Regions from separate parts of the Homo sapiens genome. Here region 1 is linked to region 2. Evidence: promoter capture Hi-C in 16 types of primary human blood cells and fetal thymus (Javierre and others, 2016). All regions are on one chromosome and are shown on one strand. The core of a region is centred on a gene start or on the middle of the fragment in contact, and the rest is flanking DNA. Distances in the headings are between cores, read along the strand shown. Region 1 holds the start of LINC00840 (long intergenic non-protein coding RNA 840). Region 2 holds the start of LINC02881 (long intergenic non-protein coding RNA 2881).

Region 1 (6,564 bases), core at 3,209-5,708, 430 kb after region 2:
GAGAGAGACCGAAAGAGCCATATCTGAGGTCCAGAAACAGAGCCAAGTGGGCACTGTAACTCAGGATGGGTCAAGGGACCTGGCCACTCACACACAGCTGGCAGGTGGCAGAGCCGGGATTTCATCCAGGCTGCCAAAACCCAAACACAGACCCTGCCTGCAGCACGCTCTGCCTCTCTAAGTCCACCCTGCCTATGACCAGGAAGGCCGGGTGTCCTCCCACCCAAGGCAGGCAGTGGTGGGAGGAAGTCAGCAGAGAGACCAGGTGAGGGCCTCCAGCACAGCCACAGCACAGCCCTGCCCATGTGAGCCCATCGGACATCAACACATACCACGTGTCATGTTGTGCACAGCCAGCCCCTGAGCAAGGGCACAGCAGGGCACCTGGTTGCAGAGCAGTGTGGACAGGCAAGGGCACACTGGAGAGCAGGCGGCTGAGGAGCATGCTGGGGCCGGGGTTGCCACCAACCAGCCTGGGCCAAGGAAACTATTCAAACTTTTTTTTTTTTTCAGCAAAAACAATGACAATTTTCTGTCCATTGTCATTTCCTAAGAACACTTACGGGACAAAGTCTCAGCTGCAGTAAACAGCCTGGGAGCCAAAGTCCTCTGGCTCCAGTGAGCATGTTAGGCATGATTCATCTGGTGAACATTCTCTTTCTAAAGAGGGAAGGCCAGGTTAAACAAGGGTTTGCACAAAGCTCTCTTCCTGTGGCAAACAAAAGCCTGGGCTGGGCCAGCCATCAGTCCAGGCTCAGGAGAGCTCCCTAACCAAGTCCACATGTGGCTCCCATGAGACCCTCCCAGATGGGACTTGGGGAAGATCTGATGATGATGGTGATGATGGTGATATGGTGTTCTTCCAGAAATGCCTAAAATGTGCCAGCAGAGTCTTCCCTGGGAAGCAATATTGTCCTGGCAAAGCAATGGGATCAGGAGGCCTTTTAGTCTCGATCAGAATAGGGAGGAGAAGGCACCTTTGGGAATAAATGAAGCACCATGGGCCCCAAAGAGAGCCAACATGCAAATCATGGCCTGAAGATGACCCTTGAGGGAATGGAGCTCAGGACCACTGACAGGACACAGAGAGGAGGCAGCAGAGGGATGGGCAGCACTGTGATCCCGGCATCCAGGGCAGTGATGCCAAGCAGCAATGGCCCTCCTGTGCTCGGCGGTTACACGAAGGCCCAGATCAGTGCCAAGCGGGTGGTCTACTGGGCAGGCGGGGTCTGAAGGAGACATTACTTCCTGCCCGATCTTGTTAGCCAGGCTCACATATCGGACCAACCCCCATCCCACCTTAAATTGCAATCCACGTCCTTCTCAGGAAATAAGAAACCCCTCAGTCTGCACAATGCTTTCTTTGCCATGATTTGTATCACCCATGTCTTGCTCTATGATTTGGGGATTATGTTCATTGTTTGTTGGCTACACCCCCACTTCTCAGTTGGAATACGCATCAACTCCAGGAGGGCAGGGAAACTTTTTCTTGCTTCCTGATCTCCCCCTAGCACCTCGAGCAGTGCCTGGCACACAGCAGGTGTCCACAGTACTTGTCGAATGCAGAAGTGAATAAATAGCAAGACAGAGTCACCCGGCTGGCTTGGACCTGGACTGGCCAAGCTGGTGGTCTACACCATGATTTGCTGGATAATCCATGCAGCTTTCCCTGCATAGACACAGATGCAGCCCCTCTGTCCAAACATGATGCTCCCTCTGTCATTGATGGGAACCAGATGGAGTCGCGCCTGTAACATGACTGAGCACTGATTTCAGTAAAGTAAATGAATTACCAAATTGTAGTCATTATAATTTATCTTCATCTTAGTGACACACTTGACTGGCTGCTATAAACCAGGATTTGAAGAGTGAATGTGAATTTACAGACCTCTCAGCTCTGCCCACAGGATCCAAATCTGGCAGAATTGTCATCTCTATTGAACTATTACAACTGAATGGTGAGCTCTCCTACCCCCAGATTTACCGTTAATATGTGGTAACCCAACTATAGGAGCCATCTGATAATTCATCCTAGTACGTCAGATTTGGAAAGACCTTTAGGGTCATCTAAACAAATTCCATCTGCTTGAAACGAATGCCACTAAATCACAACTACCACTCTGCCAAGACTGGGCCAAAGTCCAGCTCACACAACTCACCCCACTCAAACAACAGTCCCACACACAAAATGGAGTATCCACTCCTAAAGCTGAGTCAGCCCTGAAAGGTCTGAGGGGTTGAGCAACCTAGCTCAGGCATAACAAGTGACTTTCAGAACTATTACTCAAACTGAAGAGTGTCTGACTCCAACCCATCACTCCCAACCATTATGCTCACCACTGACTCTGAATTCTGGAGAAAATTGTCAATAAAGATGTAGAGGATTGGTGACTCCTAGGTCCATGACACCTGAACTCACCAATTTTAACAACATTGAAAGCAAGAAGGCCAGACATTGTTGCTTCCTGATGTGATGAAGGTACAACAGGAAATGCACAGCATTCATATAAAGTGGCTTTGCCAAAAAAAAAAAATGTGAGTTTAATCAAGCATTGGATATAACCACCTGCAGGAAGCATGGAAGATAAATCTTCAACAAGAGGGCATTTAGCTAAATCCAGAACATAATCCACTGTACAGAAAAATGACCCATGACCAAGTTTTTTCAACAAATAAATGCATTTTTAAAAGAGAGGGAGAAGTATTACAGATTAAAAGAGACCTAAAAGACACCTCACCCAACCACAATGCGTGGACCTTGTCTGCATCCTGAATCCAGCAAAGCACCTGCAAAAGGACAATGATTTTTATATTTAGCTGAGATTCATTTATTATGACTGCAGTATACTATTCCATTCTATAGCTTTTTCCTTTTTTTATTTTTATAGATTTAGGGTGTACAAGTGCAGTTTTGTTACCTGGATAGATTTCATAGTCATGAGGCCTGGGCTTTTGGTGTAATCATCACTTGATTAGTATACATTGTAACTGTTAGGTAATTTCTCATCCCGCATTGCCCTCCCAACCTCCCCCCTTTCTGAGTCTCCAACGTCTGTTATTCCACACTCTATGTCCATGTTTACACATTATTTAGCTCCCACTTATAAATGAGAATACACAGTATTTGACTTTCAGTTTCTGGGTCGTTTCATTTGAGATAATGGCCTCCAGTTCTATACATGTTACTGCAAAAGACATGATTTCACTCTTTTTTATGGCTGGGTAGTATTCCAGGGTGTGTGTGTGTGTGTGTGTATTATACACATTATATATATAATATACACACACACCATATTTTATGTTGTAAAATATATCCATATTTTATGGTGTATATATATATATATCAATACCAATACGGTGTGTGTGTATATATATACTATATTGGTATTTATATATATATATATATATATATATATTTCTAGAATTTGCTTCAAAATACTCCAGGAAAAATAAAACACAGAGTAAAGGGGTAGATGAAGTAAGAATAGCTAAGTACTGATCATTATTGAAGCCAGGTTATGAACAAGTGAGGTTTCATTAGACTATTTGTTCTACTTCTACATATGCTTAAGATTTTCCATAACAAAGTTAAATTTAAAAAGAAGTGATGACACCCGGGAATAGAATCTTAAACCCCAAAACAACACTGTACTCTATATGGAAATGGTCACGCTCTCCCTTTGAAAAGCTTTCTCATCACGGGAGATAAAGTTACCAACTTAGAGAAACCGAAGGGTCTCAGTGAGACACTCCCCAGGAATATACCACAGAAAGCAAAAGCATAATGGCTAAGAGATAAAACCATGGAAAATTTAAGAAAAGATGTATGTTTTAAAATATTAGTGAAACATTTAAATATACATAATGAACTGGGAAAGTATAAAGTACATGTCAAAAAAATCTTAACATTATCATTACATTTAAAATATTATAAGCCTATAAGAAAAAACAGACTATTCCCTCTGAAAGGGCAAAAGATATGAGCAGACAGTTCGTGGAGGGAAAGGAAAGGTATAAAGACAGTGAATATGTATAAGGGAACAAACAAGAGGACAGGTTCACTTGTAATAAAATCAGCACATAATTAAAAAGCACATGAAGGTCTACACATTATTGACAAGATGAGCTCATTGGAGAACATCGCATAGTCCTGCCGTAGTTGAGGGGAAAATGTTCTTCCGCCACACTGCTGGTTCACACTCCCTATTTATATGTAGCAAAAGCTCATTAATGCCCTTTGTTTCAGCAGTTCTTCTTGCAACTATTTATTCATGAGAAGTAAAAATAAGCAAAGGTTTGTCTTACCTACAACAGTAAGTACAGGCAGTTTCCTTTGGCGCTGTGTAAAAATTCGTGCGCAATTCAAGATGATGAGCCCTTGGCTTGAAGTCAGAGGCCTGAACCCTGGTGCTGGCCTACTTTTAGGACTTGGTTTCTTCTTATCCTATGGGCTAAAAGTTAGCACTTAAGTCTACAGCTACTGAAAAACTAGAATAGATCTAAAAGACAAAGTGTTTATTTTTGCTAACATATATAAGTCACCTATTAAAAACCTGCTTATTCAGTAGATATCATTTTGTGCATAAGACTAAAATAATAAAAATAATGATCTTCTTCAGTCTTGAGTCTTGAATCTCAGAATCTTCCTCTGTATAGTGAACACACTGGGATAGTTTTAGATAACACATCCATTGGCTCTCAGTTCTAGTCCAAGATGAAAAGCATATCCTTGTGTGATCCAAGTCATAAAGGTAGAGCCAGTTTCCCTAAGATGTATTCTTGGAATTTTCCAGAAGATTAATTTTTCTCAAGCCTTAGATTGCTACAGGATTGACCTCATGGGCTAACATCCATAAGAGGACGTTACCAGTTGAGAACCCATGGACTTAGAGGTGAAACTGCCTGCAGCTTGCTTCTATCTGAATTTCACCTGAGGTGAACAAATCTGTGCCAGAAGGAGTTGCCCAAGTCTCCATTCTAGAGCAACAGGGCTGTTTTGAGTGCAGTTATGAAGGAGGAAAAGCAGCTCCATGCCTCCATGGAAACCCAGCCTGAAGATCTCAAGATCCTGGTCCCTGGAGAAGCAGATCCATGGCACCGAACCCCACACCGTACAGCCCATCTAAAGGTCAATGGCACCTGTGCGAGAGATATTAAGGAGGAGCAATGGTAGACAAAATCAGAGCATCTATGAGCTGACTCCAGGGGTGAATTTGAGGAAAAGCTTTGGCGTTATCCAGATTAAAATTGAAGTTAAATGCTGCAGCGTTTCCAGAAACATGAGGCACTGGTTTGTCCCCAGGACAGGAAATACTGATGTTGACTTTCATGATGGAAACAATGACTTCTGCCCACTCTCCACCCTCCTTTCTTACACTTAGAAAATCTGGCATTAAAATGAAAGGCAAACCAAAGAAGAAATGGAAGGTGACAACCAGAGAAAAGACCATGTCAGCAAAATCCCGGCTCCAAGTCCTGAGCCCTGGTAGTGAGGATGCATTCACAGGTTGACGCAGAGGGTGGTATTAGGATCTAGGAACAGATCAGGAAATATTGAGTAAAGGAAGCACCTGACCAGGAGAGCCAGGCTGCACTTGGAATCACTGGGGAAGGAGAATCTTGGTTACGTTTGCTTACCAGGATTACCCTCCTGTGGGTTAATCAATCCTAATAGGATGCTGAAGGGTTTTTTTAAATTTTCAATTCAGAGGCCCATTTTAAAAAATATGCTCACTGTTGGTTAAGGCACACAGCTGATTTTGTTAATATATATGAGGATCCATGTCTAAAGAGCTCAAAGTTATTATTAAACTCATAACTACTAAATTAACAAGCACATATATAACATAAACATCCTCAAATACACGACTGTGTCATGTTTAAAACTCTACTTGTTCTCTGAGCACCATTTTATGCAAAACTATCTAAGAAAACAGCTGCCAATTAAATTGGAATAAGATAAAGTCAACCTATGCCAATGAATGGAGCAATATTGGAACCTATTTTCCAGAACTAACTTGATGATCATTCAACAAGAGATTCTGGCAGGAAAAAAGAATATATACATACACACACACACATATACAGGTTCTTTTCAGAAAATGTCTCAAAAATGTGGTCCTCATCATGTGAACACAGTGTTCGTGTGTGTGCTGCCTGATTTGACTCCCAACTTTCTGCCATTGCATTGGTGTTTGGGGGGTTTTGTTCTCATAGTACAGAAAAGCTTTTAATTGTTAAACGTGTGCAAAATAAAATGCAAACTGCACAACTCAATTACTTTCCTTCAAACTGATGGCCATGTTTCTCAGTGTCTGTCAGTTGTTTTAACAAAAACTTTTCTCATCTGCAAAGAATTGAAATTACCCTTTCAACATATGTTTTCCAAAATCCCTGCTCTGTTTTCTCTTTGAAATTCAAAATTACTAATATACCTTACTGCAAATATAAGTGCCTTTCTCCAGAAAGCTCTAGTGGCCAAGTAGAAATGTTTCCCTTCGGATCAAGGAAATGGTATTTTGTGATTAAATTAGTTTGAGCAACACAGCTCTGGGTGTTTTATAT
Region 2 (6,878 bases), core at 3,641-6,140:
AAATTATATTAATATATGTCATGCTAATAAATTATTTCCATATTCCTAGGAATAAAGCTGGGTAGTTTGTGGTATATTATTCTTTGAATTTATTCCTGGATTTAACGTAAAAATATTTTATAGGGAAGTGTTATATCTATACTCTTAAGTGCAATTGTTCTATAGATGCTTTTCATTGTTATCTTTGTTGAGTTTGGGCTTAAATGTGATGCTAGTCTTATATAATCAGTTTCAAACAATTTCTAAACTTTCTATGCTTTGGGAACTTTAAAATAGCATCATACTGAATTATTTCCCTCAAAGTCTGATAAAAATCATCTATGACCTGGATTACTTATAAGGGATCCAAAGGAAGGTGGGAAGGAAGTAATTTGCATTTGAAAAAAGCTTTCCCTCCTTGGGATTGGAGTCCTTTGATCAAAAAAAGTAGTTTTACAGTTCTGTGTGGTTAAAATTCATAATCATTTTGTCATTATTTACTACTTGTACTAAGAGAAAAAGGCTTGTAGAATTTCTACCTTATTTAGAATAGACTTTGTTAGGCCTAATTCATTATCAATATTTATAAATACTGAGTTAATACATTACTTTGTCTCTTTGTGGCTTACAATGTTTTCTATGTAGGTACTATGCCAAGTTTGTTAATTACATTATTCACGCTTTGTATGTCCTTTTTTATCTTGTTAATCCACAAAATTCTGTACAATGTGTTAGAGCTTCTCAGTACCAAACAATTTTATCAAATTTTTATGTTTTATATTTTCACATTATTTCCTCTACTAGTATTTGAAATGCAAATGTTCATGACTTCAATGTCTTCATTGTGGATTGTATATTTTATTAATAATATGATCATTTTTGCCTCATTGACTATTTTTAGGCTTTCTTTCTCTATTTGACATAAATATTCCCTCCCTTGCTTTGTCTATATCTGAATTTATCTGCTAGATCCTCGCCTAACTCCTAAGTGTCAAAGTATCAACCTCTATGCTTCATTTTACTTTAGATGGATCAGGTTTTGCTGTTTGAAGCACTCTAGGTACTTAGCCTTTGGATAGGGAAGTTTAGTCCACTTATTTTTGGATGTATTCTGATAACCAATACATTCAGTAATAGTCTTATTTTATCTTTTACATTTATCACATTTCCAGTATTTCTGATTTTATCTTCCTTTCTTTCAGTGGGTTGATCAGTAATATTTTCCTCTTTCGTTTGTTCAGCATTTGGCAAGTTATTTATCCAATTTCTATTGAATATATTTGGGTATATTTCCAAATATACTGGATATTGGATGTTGGATATATTTGGAAATATTTGGATATTGGATAAAGGATATATTTTCCAGTGATTACTTTTCAGTTTTACAAACCCAAATACAACACACAAAAAATCTTAAACTTACATTTTGCTATAATTATAAAAAATAAAATGGTTCCCATGAAACAGTTTTGGAAGAGAAAGATCTTTACTTCCCTCCCTCCTCCTATCTTCTCATATCAGATGGGGATACCCCAGAGCTGGAGAGGTGGCCAGGGAGAAGTTTGGATTCAGCCTTTTCTGGAGGAAATGAGTTCAGTGTGGCTTTGTCTATGTCACAGAGATCCTATTCAGGGACAGAAAATGATGAGTGAAGCACATGACAATAGAAACGACTATTATGTGGGAGGAGAGGAGGTGAACACGTTGGAATACTGTGTTTCTTTTACAACTGTTTTGTTCTTCTTTTAATTGACCCAGGTTTGAACTGTGCTGTTTATGACAGCTTTTGTTTTCATAAGTATGTGGAATGAGCATTTGAAAACGTGTTTGTGGTGTTGATGGTAGGAGCTGGGTGTAGGAATGTGTACTTTGTGGTGTGCCTGTGGCTTGTGTCTCTGTATGTGGTGTGTGTATGCAGTGTGTGTGGATGTGTGGTATGTTTGTGGTATATGTGTCTATGTGCACAGTTTGTGTGTTTGTGTGATTTGGATGCTGTTTTCTGTGGTATCTGGAAGTATAATGTGGAATTCGTGTAGGCAGTGTGTGTGCCTGTGATGTGTGCATGGTGTGCCCAGTGTGGTATGAGTGGCAAGTGTGTGTCTAGGTGGTATATCATGCACTTGTGTATAGCATACATGGTATCGTGTGCATGTGTGTTGTGGTGTGTGTGGCAAGCGTGTGTGTATTGTGTCGTATGTGTGGGATATTTGTGTGGATGTTGTAATATGTCTGGTGTGTGTGTGTGATGTGTGTAGTGTGTCTGGTGTGTGTGGGTGGTGTAACATGCAGTAGCATACATGGTGTGGCATGATGTGTGGCATGTGTAGGTGCATTTGTGGATGATGTGGTATGTTTAGCATGTGTGACTATGGTGCGGTGCGGTGTGGTGTGTCTTGTGTATATCATATGTGATGTGGGTGGGATGGGTGGTGTGTGTGTATGCATGTGTGGCATGTGTGACTACATGTGTGCTGTGTGCATATGAATGTGTGGTGCGTGTGTATGCATGTGGGGCCTGTGTGTATGTATGTGGGGCATGTGTGTGTAATGTGTGTGTATGCATGTGTGCCATGTGCGTTCTGGTTAGGAGTCTGTCTCTGGAAGGCGACAGAAGGACAATAAGATGCATTTTCACTCCAGGCTGGCAGGTCCTGGTGGGGACTGGGCTGAGAGGACTGAAATGACACAGCCTTGCCTTGCTCCCAGGCCCCACAGAGGCATCCTTTCAGAAATGGCAAGCGCCGCCCCTCAGGATGGGGAGTGTACTGAGGCGGAGGTATTATGACGCATTGCCCAGGAACTGATTACAGCCTTTCTGAAAATATCAGAACAAACCAAAGTACTTTTTTTCTCTCACTCAACAACAATCAACACAGAAGACTTCTGTGACCAAATGTGTGGGTTTTCTCCCCACCACAAGCAAGAAGGCAGTTCTACATCGGACAATTCCAACATCGACACCTTCTACCTGGAGGTGGCCTCACACCCCACAAGCCCAAGCCTCATGTCCCAAGCCTGCCCTCCACTTCCAATGCCAATGGCAAGGTGGTCTTACCTGTGCTTCTGACCCACTGGCGTTCCCACGAATCAATGTTCCCAGGACGCCTCCTAACACTTGAATAATTCGCTAGAGCAGCTCACAGAGCTCAGGGAAAGGCCTACTTACATTTACTATAAAGGATGTTACAGAGGAGAGAGACACAGAGATGCCTGGGGCAAGACATATGAGGAGGGCGAGAAGCTTCCATGCCCTCCTGGGGCTGTCGAACTAAAACGAAGAAGCTGAAAGTTTTGCTCCAAATGCCATTGTTTATCCATTTTTGACCACCTGATCTGTTCCATTAGCTTCAAAAGATGCCTTTTCATTTGTTTCGTTTTGCCTTCGATGGCCTTCCGCCTGCCGCAAGCAACCCTCTAGAATATGGGCCTGTGCTTGGCTTTTCTACACAAACATGAGCAGCCTTCAATTACTGGGGGACATTCATTTCCTCCTTCCAACTAGAGAGCGAGGAGTGTCCCGGGGAGAGTGGGTCCTTGAGCTCCTCTGGGCCTTGCTTGGGACTTGGTCCAGGAGGTTATGGGAAGAAACTGGTTTAGAAGCTGACCTCATGGGTTCGCTATTCTTATGTAACACTTAGGAAGAGCAGAGACCCACGCGATTCAGTCCCAGAGCAATGTTGCGGTCAAGAGAACACAGTCCAGCTACCAACAGTTATTTCAAAATAATTCAAGCTCTTTGTTTATATTTCTGAAAGAAAGAAAGAAAAAAAAAGGGTGGCCCAGCTGGAAACTCGGCTTTAAGTCCCCTTTCAGGGGGCCCTCAGGTGGGCACCTGCTTGGAAACCTCTCCACCCCTCCAAACACCCTTTTCCTCTCTGAGTGTTCATTTGTTGATCCAGATTCTGAATAAATGAAGCCGTACAGAATCCACCTGGCAAAAATGGAAACTGCCTGGAGGCCAGGGCTGAGGGAAGGCCTGGAGCAGAGCCGGTGCGCGACCTCGCAGTGAGCAGGGAGGGCAGGCTGGGGACGTTCACCACCCAGAACGCCTCTGCTCCCCGCAACCCTGAGACTCCAGGCTCCCCTGTTCCTCCCTCCGGGAGACCCTGCCCGTCCTCCCCGCGGGGCTCCTTCGCAGTTCGGGGGAAGGGACGGGTTGCGTCCTCGGGACCTTTCTCTGCAGCCACAGCAGCGCATCCCAGCACCTCCTCCAGGAGCCCCGCCACCTCCTGCCACCCGGACTTTCCCCACAGCGCAGCGTCCCCTCGTCCTCTCAGGGCTGGAACAGCGGTACCCGCAGACAGTGCAAAAGGGAAGTCCCTGTTGCCTTCCCATGCAAACTGTAGGGCGCTTACAGCTGCTGGGAGAGGAAAGGAAAGAAGAAATACAGTGAGTGTGATATGGGTACAAAGAAACCAACACGGAGCTTCCGTGGGCCTAGAAAGGAGCCCCCAGGAGAAGTACACTGGGCCTGCGTCATCGCCTGCCTTCAGCGGGCTCCATCCTTCCCCAGGCCCCCCTCCCCACCCACCTCCCACCCGCGGTCCTCCCGAGGCCCCCCTCCCCGCCCCCCCTTCTCGCTTCCCCATCCCCCTCCCACCCGCGGCCCTCCCGAAGCCCCCCTCCCCACCTCCCCACCTCCATTCTTCGCCTCCCCAACCCCGCTCCGAGTCTCCCCGCCTCCCTATCCCGCCTCCCACCCGCGGCCCTCCCGACGCCCCCTTCACCTCCCCACTCCCGAGGCCCTCCTGAGGCCCCTGGGCTCCCGCTCCTCCGAGTTGCCTGCGGCCGAGTCCTGGCGCGGCCTGGGACTGCCTGTTGGGGGGAGGGGGTGGGGGGGGGTCGTTCCCAAAGAAGGGGAAGGAGGCCTTTCGTGAGCATCTGAGGAGTACATCCTCATTTTGTCTTCTCACTCTGTCCACCCAGAGCCTGTGACCCGGATCCAACCCGCGGCGCACAGACCCCGGCTCTGGGCACCCCTGGTGAGCGCCTTCTGCGCCAGAGCTCCGTACAGCACCAGCCCGCGCTCTCCCCCAGCTTCTGTTCATTTGCTGCAGTCCTGACGGGTCAGTTGCCTGAGCATCCATGCTGCCATCCATACAAACCCAGGCACGCAGAGATGTACATCCTTTACCCAGGGTGACACCATGTGGAGCTGAATCCAAGTCCGGGAGTCTGATGACCGTGTCTGGGCTCTGACCGCGCAGCCGTCTCACAGTGAAACAAATTGCGGACTGGCCTTGTCCTGAGTGGCCTTAGGAAGCTGCAGTGGCCTGCAGTCTCCTGGCCAGTCTGTAGAATTTGGCAAAGATGAGGCACCTTATAGCCTTACATGTTCTTATTTTTCTTTCCTTTTCTCTTCTTTATTTTCTTTTTTAAGGATTTGAATTAGTATATGTAAAGTGCTTAACGCAGGAGCTGGCAGAGAAAGTGGATACTCAGTAAATAACAGCAATTGTTAATTGTAAAAAGCATGCCACTTATCTGGTAAAATCCCCCATTCTAAGCACCCTGTTAAGTAGTTGGTAATTCCTCACTTGAAAGAAATTAAAAAGAATTTTTGTCAGTTTTTTAAAATATTGTTTTATTGTGATAAAATATTCATAACATAAATTTCACTCTTTTAATACTTTTTAAGTGTACAATGCAGATTAATAAGAGAAATGCATACAAATTTATTAACGTGTACACGGGAAAAATAAGGTGATTACCCAATATCCCATGAGGTCCAGATACTTATACAGCGTTTTTTCAGAGAGGAGGGTGGAAGGCGGAATGTAGGTGATTCTGTTGAGGGGCAATAAATTATTATTAAGGAGAATGAATGGGTCAAGAAACAGAGAGTTATTCGTAAATGGTTCTCTTTGAAAATTTAATAAGCTGGAGAAATGGATTATTTTTTTGAAAGCGTCTGTTCAGGTGTGGTCACGTGTTGGTTTTCTTTTCTGCAATAGATAATGAGATAAGAGGGAGGAGAAGGAAAAGTAATTGTTCTCTTTGGTGGGTCTGCAGGGTCTTCATGTAGATAAGGGAGAGGACTCTTCCAGCTTCTGTTGATCTTGAGGGACTTTAATTGAAAATACTCATACCAGGGAGCCATATTTTGGGGCCAAGTTCCCTGCGCTCCTTCAATCCTCCTGTTTGGAACTTCCCTAGAATTTCACATTATCAACAGCTGAATCAGTGATTATGGAGAGATTTGGGTTAGAGGAAAAGAAGGCAAAGAAGGGGAAAAAACAAATTGGGATAAGCAGAAAAGAAAAATAAATAAATATGTTGTCCCATATCTTCTTGAATCAGTCTCTTAGTCCTAAGAGTAGAAGCATTTGGTCAAACAGCTGTGTCCATTCTAGGAGGTGGCACTACAGAGGGGCTGGGCTTCTACAGCTGATGCAGGCAAGCTGGTCTTTAATAAGAGGCATTTCTATGGAAACAAAGAAAAACAAAGGTTTTTCTTAATGTCTGGAATAGTCCATAATAAACTAGTTTTTCTAGAGTCTCAGAAGTATCTTCAGATTGTAGTGGTAATCTTACAGATTTTCCTGGATTATAGTTTGAATTACGTGTTCATGTGAACTTCCTGAGTAGCCCATACATCAGCAGGCACAAAGGCTGTGTACATGTGAGTTGCTGTGCTGACTCCTCCTGAAGTTTATATCAAGTTGTCTAACTTTAGTTTGCAGGGCTTCAAGAAAAGCAGTTTTAAATTCTAGTGATTCCAAGTGAGAAAAATGAGAGAAAAGTTCAAAAGCATTAGTTTGAAGACTTGCAGCCAAGAAAGAATTCAGGATTTAGTCCAAATTGTAGGAAAATAATAAAAACTCAAAAACAATGGGCAAGACTAGAATCTGATAACAGGCATACTGTACTTGTCTTCTGAAATGCAATTTTTCTCTCCC

The links. Contacts are between HindIII fragments. The CHiCAGO score rates a contact against its expected background, and 5 or more counts as called.
Region 1: a contact is called between a fragment that was not itself captured here and the fragment with the promoter of LINC02881 in region 2, in 2 of 17 cell types (endothelial precursors and erythroblasts). The highest score is 6.2, in endothelial precursors.

What each region holds. Positions count from the first base shown.
Region 1 is chr10:43,858,102-43,864,665 of GRCh38, reverse strand. It overlaps LINC00840 (long intergenic non-protein coding RNA 840), which reads right to left and starts at 5,255. Exons shown (of 5, transcript NR_038268.1): 1 at 4,306-5,255; 2 at 2,739-2,787. RefSeq lists enhancers at 665-1,165, 1,166-1,666. The HindIII fragment of the contact is 1,536 bases long and covers 3,691-5,226 here.
Region 2 is chr10:44,290,762-44,297,639 of GRCh38, reverse strand. It overlaps LINC02881 (long intergenic non-protein coding RNA 2881), which reads right to left and starts at 4,890. Exons shown (of 3, transcript NR_164139.1): 1 at 4,707-4,890; 2 at 4,151-4,339; 3 at 2,991-3,727. LOC124902544 (a long non-coding RNA gene) reads left to right here. Exons shown (of 3, transcript XR_007062369.1): 3 at 2,686-3,726. The HindIII fragment of the contact is 4,267 bases long and covers 3,223-6,878 here.